Linked DNA regions of Homo sapiens: region 1 is linked to region 2. Evidence: promoter capture Hi-C in human tissues and cell types (Jung and others, 2019). All regions are on one chromosome and are shown on one strand. The core of a region is centred on a gene start or on the middle of the fragment in contact, and the rest is flanking DNA. Distances in the headings are between cores, read along the strand shown. Region 1 overlaps BBS9 (Bardet-Biedl syndrome 9). Region 2 holds the start of LSM5 (LSM5 homolog, U6 small nuclear RNA and mRNA degradation associated).

The links. The method cuts DNA at HindIII sites, captures the fragments that hold promoters and counts their contacts. A contact is called where the count stands out against the background at its distance.
Region 1: a contact is called between a fragment that was not itself captured here and the fragment with the promoter of LSM5 in region 2, in 1 of the 25 tissues and cell types used here (spleen).

The regions. Positions count from the first base shown.
Region 1 is chr7:33,139,015-33,142,556 of GRCh38, forward strand. The region is part of intron 1 of BBS9 (Bardet-Biedl syndrome 9); the gene reads left to right. Among named protein-coding and RNA genes, the nearest start is that of BBS9, 11 kb to the left of the region's middle. The HindIII fragment of the contact is 3,484 bases long and covers 237-3,542 here.
Region 2 is chr7:32,488,799-32,492,204 of GRCh38, forward strand. LSM5 (LSM5 homolog, U6 small nuclear RNA and mRNA degradation associated) reads right to left here and starts at 1,582. Exons shown (of 5, transcript NM_012322.3): 1 at 1,522-1,582; 2 at 451-546. The coding sequence starts at 1,567. RefSeq lists an enhancer at 1,485-1,534. The HindIII fragment of the contact is 28,883 bases long and covers 1-3,406 here.

The sequences.
Region 1 (3,542 bases), core at 729-3,228, 650 kb after region 2:
GGCTGAGGTCGGCGGATCACCTAAGTTCAGGAGTTCAAGACCAGCCTGACCAACATGGAGAAACCCCGTCTCTACTAAAAATACAAAATTAGCTGGGCGTGGTGGCGCATGCCTGTAATACCAGCTATTCAGGAGGCTGAGGCAGGAGAATTGCTTGAACCCAGGAAGTGGAGGTTGCGGTGAGCTGAGATTGTGCCATTGCACTCCAGCCTGGGCAACAAGAGTGAAACTCTGTCTCAAAAACAAAAACAAAAAACAAAACAAAACAAAAAAACAAGTTAATGAGAAATGAATGTCTTCTATAGGCATTCCTATTTGTAGACATTGTTGGAAAGTTCTTTCATATTGGAGGATTCTTTTGATTCTTTTTTTGTCTTTTTTATTTTAACAGCCCACTAGATCATAATATTGGAGGATTTTTTGTATTCATTCTAGCAAGCTGAAAAAATTTATTGACTCACAGGTTTTTAAGGCCATTTTCATAGGATAGCTACTTTGACTTGATGCAGTATTTATATTCAAACTCCAGCTTTGTCTCTTGTGGTCACTTATCTGAGGATTTTGACTTTTTAAAAATGTATCATTCATTATCATTGACAGAAAAATCTCTTCTCTTTCTCCTTTACTTGGTTTAGTATGTTCTCTAGGCAGGCCCCATGAAGTTTTCTTTTCTGTCTGTGTTAGGCAAAGGTAAGACCCCCTTTGAGTGTTGTATAGTTCTTACTTTCTTATTTTCTCTCCTTGAGACTTTTGAACCGGCTGATGCAGGAGTGAGCAGAGGATCACTTACTCTTTGGTTGGTTACTACTAATTTCTGTCCTTAGCTATGTCTCCCAATAGAGCTTATGCCTCCAAGTCTTCATCCTTTATGGTGTATCAGGAGCACTTGATACAGTTGGTCACTCCCTTTTTCTAGATACATTTTTTTTTTCCACTTCCTTCGAGATAACTCACTTCTGGCTTTGTTTTGATCTCAGTGAATGCCCCTGTTAAGCTTCTGGTAGATTCCTCTTCTTTTTCTTTTTTTTGGAGATGGAGTCTCACTCTGTCACCCAGGCTGAAGTGCAGTGGCGTGATCTTGGCTCACTGCAAGCTCCACCTCCTGGTTCATGCCGTTCTCCTGCCTCAGCCTCCCGAGTAGCTGGGACTACAGGCACCCGCCACCACACCCGGCTAATTTTTTGTATTTTTAGTAGAGATGGGGTTTCACCGTGTTAGCCAGGATGGTCTCGATCTCCTGACCTCGTGATCTGCCTGCCTCGGCCTCCCAAAGTGCTGGGATTACAGGCATGAGCCACCGCACCCAGCCGGATTCCTCCTCTTCTTAACCTCTGTACCACTCCTTTGTCTTCTAAGCTTGTGTCTGGTTTTCTTCAGATATCCCATCATGCACCTTTTCCCTTTCCTGATTATGCTTTTCATCCTTTTATCGTAGCCATCCTTCATAGCCATGAAGATGACTATGCTGTGTCCTGTGAGTCCTCCTAGGGAATCATTGGCATTTCAAGTGTGAATTTGGGTAATATTTTGCTCTGAGCTGCAAGTGAATGATGTATCCTCATTCTCATAGTCCAGTAATATGGCATATTACAATTCTCCTAGGTACTTGGCATATATAGTGAGAATATATGGGATTTATTGAATACTGTTACTTTCCTCTCAAAAATCCAATAAAAGTGTAATACAGATATTATTATGTTTTTTGAATGCTTGCTACCAGATTTGAAATTTAGTAATCTGACAATTTGTATGGTTATATAATGTCATTAGTAATAACAAATGGTGCAAATATTTTTCAGAAAGTCTCCCACATATTTTGAAACTCATGATAAATTTGTTTACCTGTTAGATATTTGTTCACTTCCATCAACTCCCAGTGTTTATCTAACTTCTTTCTTAGCATAAGCAGAGTACTATGGATGGAATTTTCTTTCTTTTTTCTCCTGGTATTTGTTTTTTTAAACTAATCATTTTGAAATAATTTTAGACTCACTTAGAAGTTGCAAAAATAATGGTTTCCCAATGAAAACAGTACAGTGATCAAAACCATCAAATTTGTTTTTTTCGTAGAGACTGGGTCTCTGTTACATAGGCTGGAGTGCTGTGTCTTGATCAAAGCTCACTGCAGGCTGGCATGGTGGTTCACGCCTATAATTCCACCACTTTGGGAGGCCGAGATGGGTGGATTGCTTGAGGTCAGGAGTTGGAGACCAGCCTGGTCAACATGGGGAAACTCCATCTCTACTAAAATACAAAAATTAGCTGGGCGTGTTGGCAGGTGTCTGTAATCCCAGCTACTTGAGAGGCTGAGGCAGGAGATCGCCTGAACTTGGGAGGTAGAGGTTGCAGTGAGTTGGGATTGTGCCACTATACTCCAGCCTGGGTGACAGAGCAAGACTCCATTCCTCACTCCCCAAAAAAGCTCACTGCAGCCTCGAACTCCTGGGCTCAATTGATCCTCTCACCTCAGACTCCTGACAGTAGTTGGGACTACAGGCATGGACCACTATGCCCATCTAATTTTTTTATTCCTTGTAGAGATGGGGTCTCCCTATGTTGCCCAGGCTAATTATAGATGTTAGCCACCGTGCCCAGCCCACCATTAAATTGATGTTAGTATAATACTAAAGTTAAACTATAGATTTGATTTGGATTTTACCAGGTTTTATGTTAGATGCACTTTTTTTTTGTAGATAGTTCTAAGAAATTAATCCCAAAGAAATTGCCTTTTATTATTAGCTCCTCATAGTTACACCCTCCTGTAAACCTAGCAACCACCTATCTGTTCTACATTAGTATGATTTTGTCATTTTGAGAGTTAGAAATGTAATTATTTAATATTTTAGCTTTTTGGATTTTTTTTTCATTCAGCATAATGCTCTTGCAGTCTATCCAAGTTGCAAGTGTCAGTTATGTTTTAAATTCTTTTTTTTTTTCTCGAGATGGAGTCTCGCTCTTTTGCCCAGGCCGGACTGCAGTGGTGCTATCTCGGCTCACTGCAAGCTCTGCCTCCCGGGTTCATGCCATTCTCCTGCCTCAGCTTCCCGAGTAACTGGGACTACCCGCCCGGCTAATTTTTTGTATTCTTAGTAGAGACGGGGTTTCACCGTGTTAGCCAAGATGGTTTTGATCTCCTGACCTCGTGATCCGCCCGCCTCGGCCTCCCAAAGTGCTGGGATTACAGGTGTGAGCCACCGCGCCTGGCCTAAATTCTCAAGTTATATTGGTATGGTGTAGATGTACCATAGTGTGTTTAACCAGAACACTGAGTTTTTTTCTTTAATGTAAGTTTAAAACATCATAAAAGGGGATCAAAACCAGAGCAATGGCTAACACTTATTGAGTGCTTATTATGTGCCAGGTATTGTACTAAGTGGTCTACTGTATTCCTTTTTGTAAAAAACTAAAACTGTATATTTTTTATTTTTAATTGTGGTAAAATAATGTGACATAAAATTGAACATCTAACCATTTTTAACTATATAGTTCAGTAATGGTAAGTAAATTGACATTATTGTGCAACCAATCTCCAGAACTTCTCA
Region 2 (3,406 bases), core at 332-2,831:
CTGCAGCCTCCACCTTTTAGGCTTAAAGGATCCTCCTGCCTTAGCCCCGGAGATTAGCTGGACCCACAGGTGTACATCACCATGCCCAGCTAATTTTTGTAATTTTTGTGGAGACAGGGTTTCATCATCTTGCCCAGGCTGGTCTCAAACTCCTGGGCTCAAGCGATCCACCCACCTCGCCCTCCCAAAGCGCTGGGATTATAGGCGTGAGCCACTGGGCTCGCCTGTTCAGTTTTAATTACAATGTTTAATACAATGGCTCAAATTCAAAATGCTTGTTGTTGATAGGAACTTTACCGTCTTTCAATACATACCTCTTAAAACATTATCATAAGTTCCCTGAGAATGAACTGATTTTTATTATAATAATCACAAATATACTGATTGTCTATAGTTCTTATGTTATTACTTAAGAAAAACCTATACCACCACCACCTTTTAAAAGGATACTGACAAAGTCATCAAATCCTAGAAGAGTACCAACAATTTCCTTATCACTCTTCATCACGATGTGAATTCTTGATCCTATACATTTGTCCACAAGCTCTGAGGAGGGAAAAAATATTATTTTACCATTCATTATTTCAACAAATATTTGAGTGCCTACTGGCACTCTTACTTGCATATAGTGAAAGAAAAACCAGGAAAAACATTCATTCAATAACTTTAGGTCTTATAATACAAATCTCAGTTCAAGCACAGCATCTGGCACATAATGAGCCTTCCAAAAGAGTCTGTGGCATGAAGGAATGAAAACTTTTCAATCACGGCCACGACCACTAGTTCAATCACTCTTCACCAACTACAAAAATATAAGAGGAGATAGGTATAATTATATTCACCGGAAACTCTCCGGTCACTGCTTCCCTTTCCCAACTCTGTCTATCCTCTGTGCTCTGACGGTAGCTTGAACATCTCTTTAGCTAGCCTAGCATTATGTGGCATGATGTCTACTTGTCCAGTGTTCTCTCCTCCACTGGCTTGTGTGCTATTTGAAGGCAATGGCTATGGTTTATCATTGAAAAATGCCCAGGCACGGTATCTAGTGTATAGATACTCAGTTACTACTTATTGAATGAATAAATAACAAACAGAGCTGGTTTCCAGATTCCTCATTTAAGGCTCATTCCGGACCAGGGTGTTAGTGTCACTAACCAACCACATACATAACATGGTCTATCTAATCTGGGGATCGTAAACGCCAGGCTGAGAAGTAGGCCTACTACCTATAACACTGCAGAGGCGGGCTCACAACAAAGTAGGCCGACGACGCGTTCACTAAATGTGGACCTTTTCCAGTGAAGGTCTGGTTTGAGAAGTCAAAGTCCTTGCCTGGAGGAGCCCGACCACGTTAAAGAGCAGGTGCGGCCTGCTGTCGCGAAGACTTGGAGCTCAGAGTCGAACCGCATTTGGTCTTATACATTTCCCCACACTCGGCCAGGGCCTGCCTCGGAACAGCCCCTCGGCCCCCAATCCTGAATGTCAGCTCCCTGTTCCTGCTCCCCAAAGGACGGCGATTACCTAAGGGCAGCAGCTGCGACGGGTTGGTAGTAGCGTTAGCCGCCATGGCTACGCCGGAAGTGGCCTGCCTTCATTGATGGTGGGACGACTTTGAAAAGCGCGCTTCCGCTTTTTCCGCAGCCCAAACAGGCTCGACCAATCTGAGGCCGAGCGCACGATCTAGTCAGCTGCGTGGGTCGCGTTCACTGGCTTTTTTCCCCGGCAAGTGAGATCCGGTGAAATATTTCCTGCCCACTGGACATTTTACCATCTCGGCAGATACCCATAATGCCCTTGAAGTTTTGGAGAGACGTTGAAGATATTTTGCCTTGTGAATAAATTGTTCCTGTAACGTTTGAGTCTTCTTCCCCCGTAAAGTTGCATTTCCTCTCAAGCCAGAATCTTCAAACCAGTATAAATCAATTCGTATTTCCTGCCATCAATTAACTGTTACAATTTTCGTTACAACTACTCATTAAGGAATCTATTGTTTCTTTTTAAAGTCCAGTGGATTGAAAATCTGCAACTAGCATTTTTTAAAATTTTTCTTTAGTGAGGATTTAAGATATGTTTTTTAAACTTTTTACTACTTTAATTCATCGTTCTTATCTTTTTATGTCTGGTAGTCTTATTTATTATAGGCTTTTAAATTCAGTTTCTTCAACAATTCTTGTCTCACAGGCAACCACCAGATGTCACTCTAAATTATTCCAGAAGTGTAAAATCATGCTTTCCACTTCTGTGTTGAAAACAGCAAAGTATCGGCCCTAGTCTGTTTTATATTTGTATCCTAGGAACTTAAACCTGAACAGTCTAGGTCAGGCGCAGTGGTAACGACTGTAATCCCAGCACTTTGGAAGGCCGAGGCGGGCGGATCACCTGAGGTCAGGAGTTCGAGACCAGCCTGGCCAACATGGGTGAAACCCCGTCTCTACTAAAAATACAAAAATTAGCTGGGCGTGGTGGCGTGCGCCTGTAGTCCCAGCTACTCGGGAGGCAGAGGCAGGAGAACTGCTTGAACCCGAGAGGCAGCGGTTGCAGTGAGCCTAGATCATGCAACTGCACTCCAGCCTGAACAACAAGAGCGAAACTCCATCTCAAAAAAAAAAAAAAAAAAAGCTAAACAATAAACATGAGCGGCCACAAAGAACGTCATTCATTCATACAACAAATGGTCATTAAGCACCCATCATTCCTTCATAGACTGAGTTCCTCAAGGCTGAGAATTATGGGAAGCAGTAGTTTACGTGATTAAATTTCTTCATTTTGAATTAAATGACTTTGGTTCAAATTCCATGGTCAGTTATTTGACAATGGGCAAGTTATTTTAACTTTTTAAGTCTCAATATACCCATTGGAAAAAATGGGGACAACAGTATCTACTCATAAGATTAATGTGAAGATTAATTGAGATAATCTATGAAAAGTGGTCAGCATAGGACCTGGCACATAGCCCTTTTAAACATGAGCTGTTATTACTTATCCTTGTTTTCTAATACATGATGTCTGGCTCAGAGTGAAGCTACATAAAGCTAGCATTGCTAGCTGGTTTTGCATTCATCTTATTTTTATAACCAGACATAAGCCACTTTAAGGAAGCAATTTCTTATTTTATACACTGTGCACACTACATTTTCAGGCACACTGTAGGGCGCCTAATGAATATTCTTTAAATTGATTCTCACTATTTCATTCACACCCATCAACATTCTCCTTACTCTTCATAAGATTTTAAATACGAAGTAATGCCAGATTTGTTTGTGACGCTTCTTTCTTTCTCTTTCTCTTTTTTTCTTTTTGTCCAATCCTCATTTGGTTGAAAACCACCTCTTTTCCTGGTTTTCCTTTTCTATTCCTATTTTATTTTCCCCATACCATACTGACAGTATGGGAGAATTCAAAACAT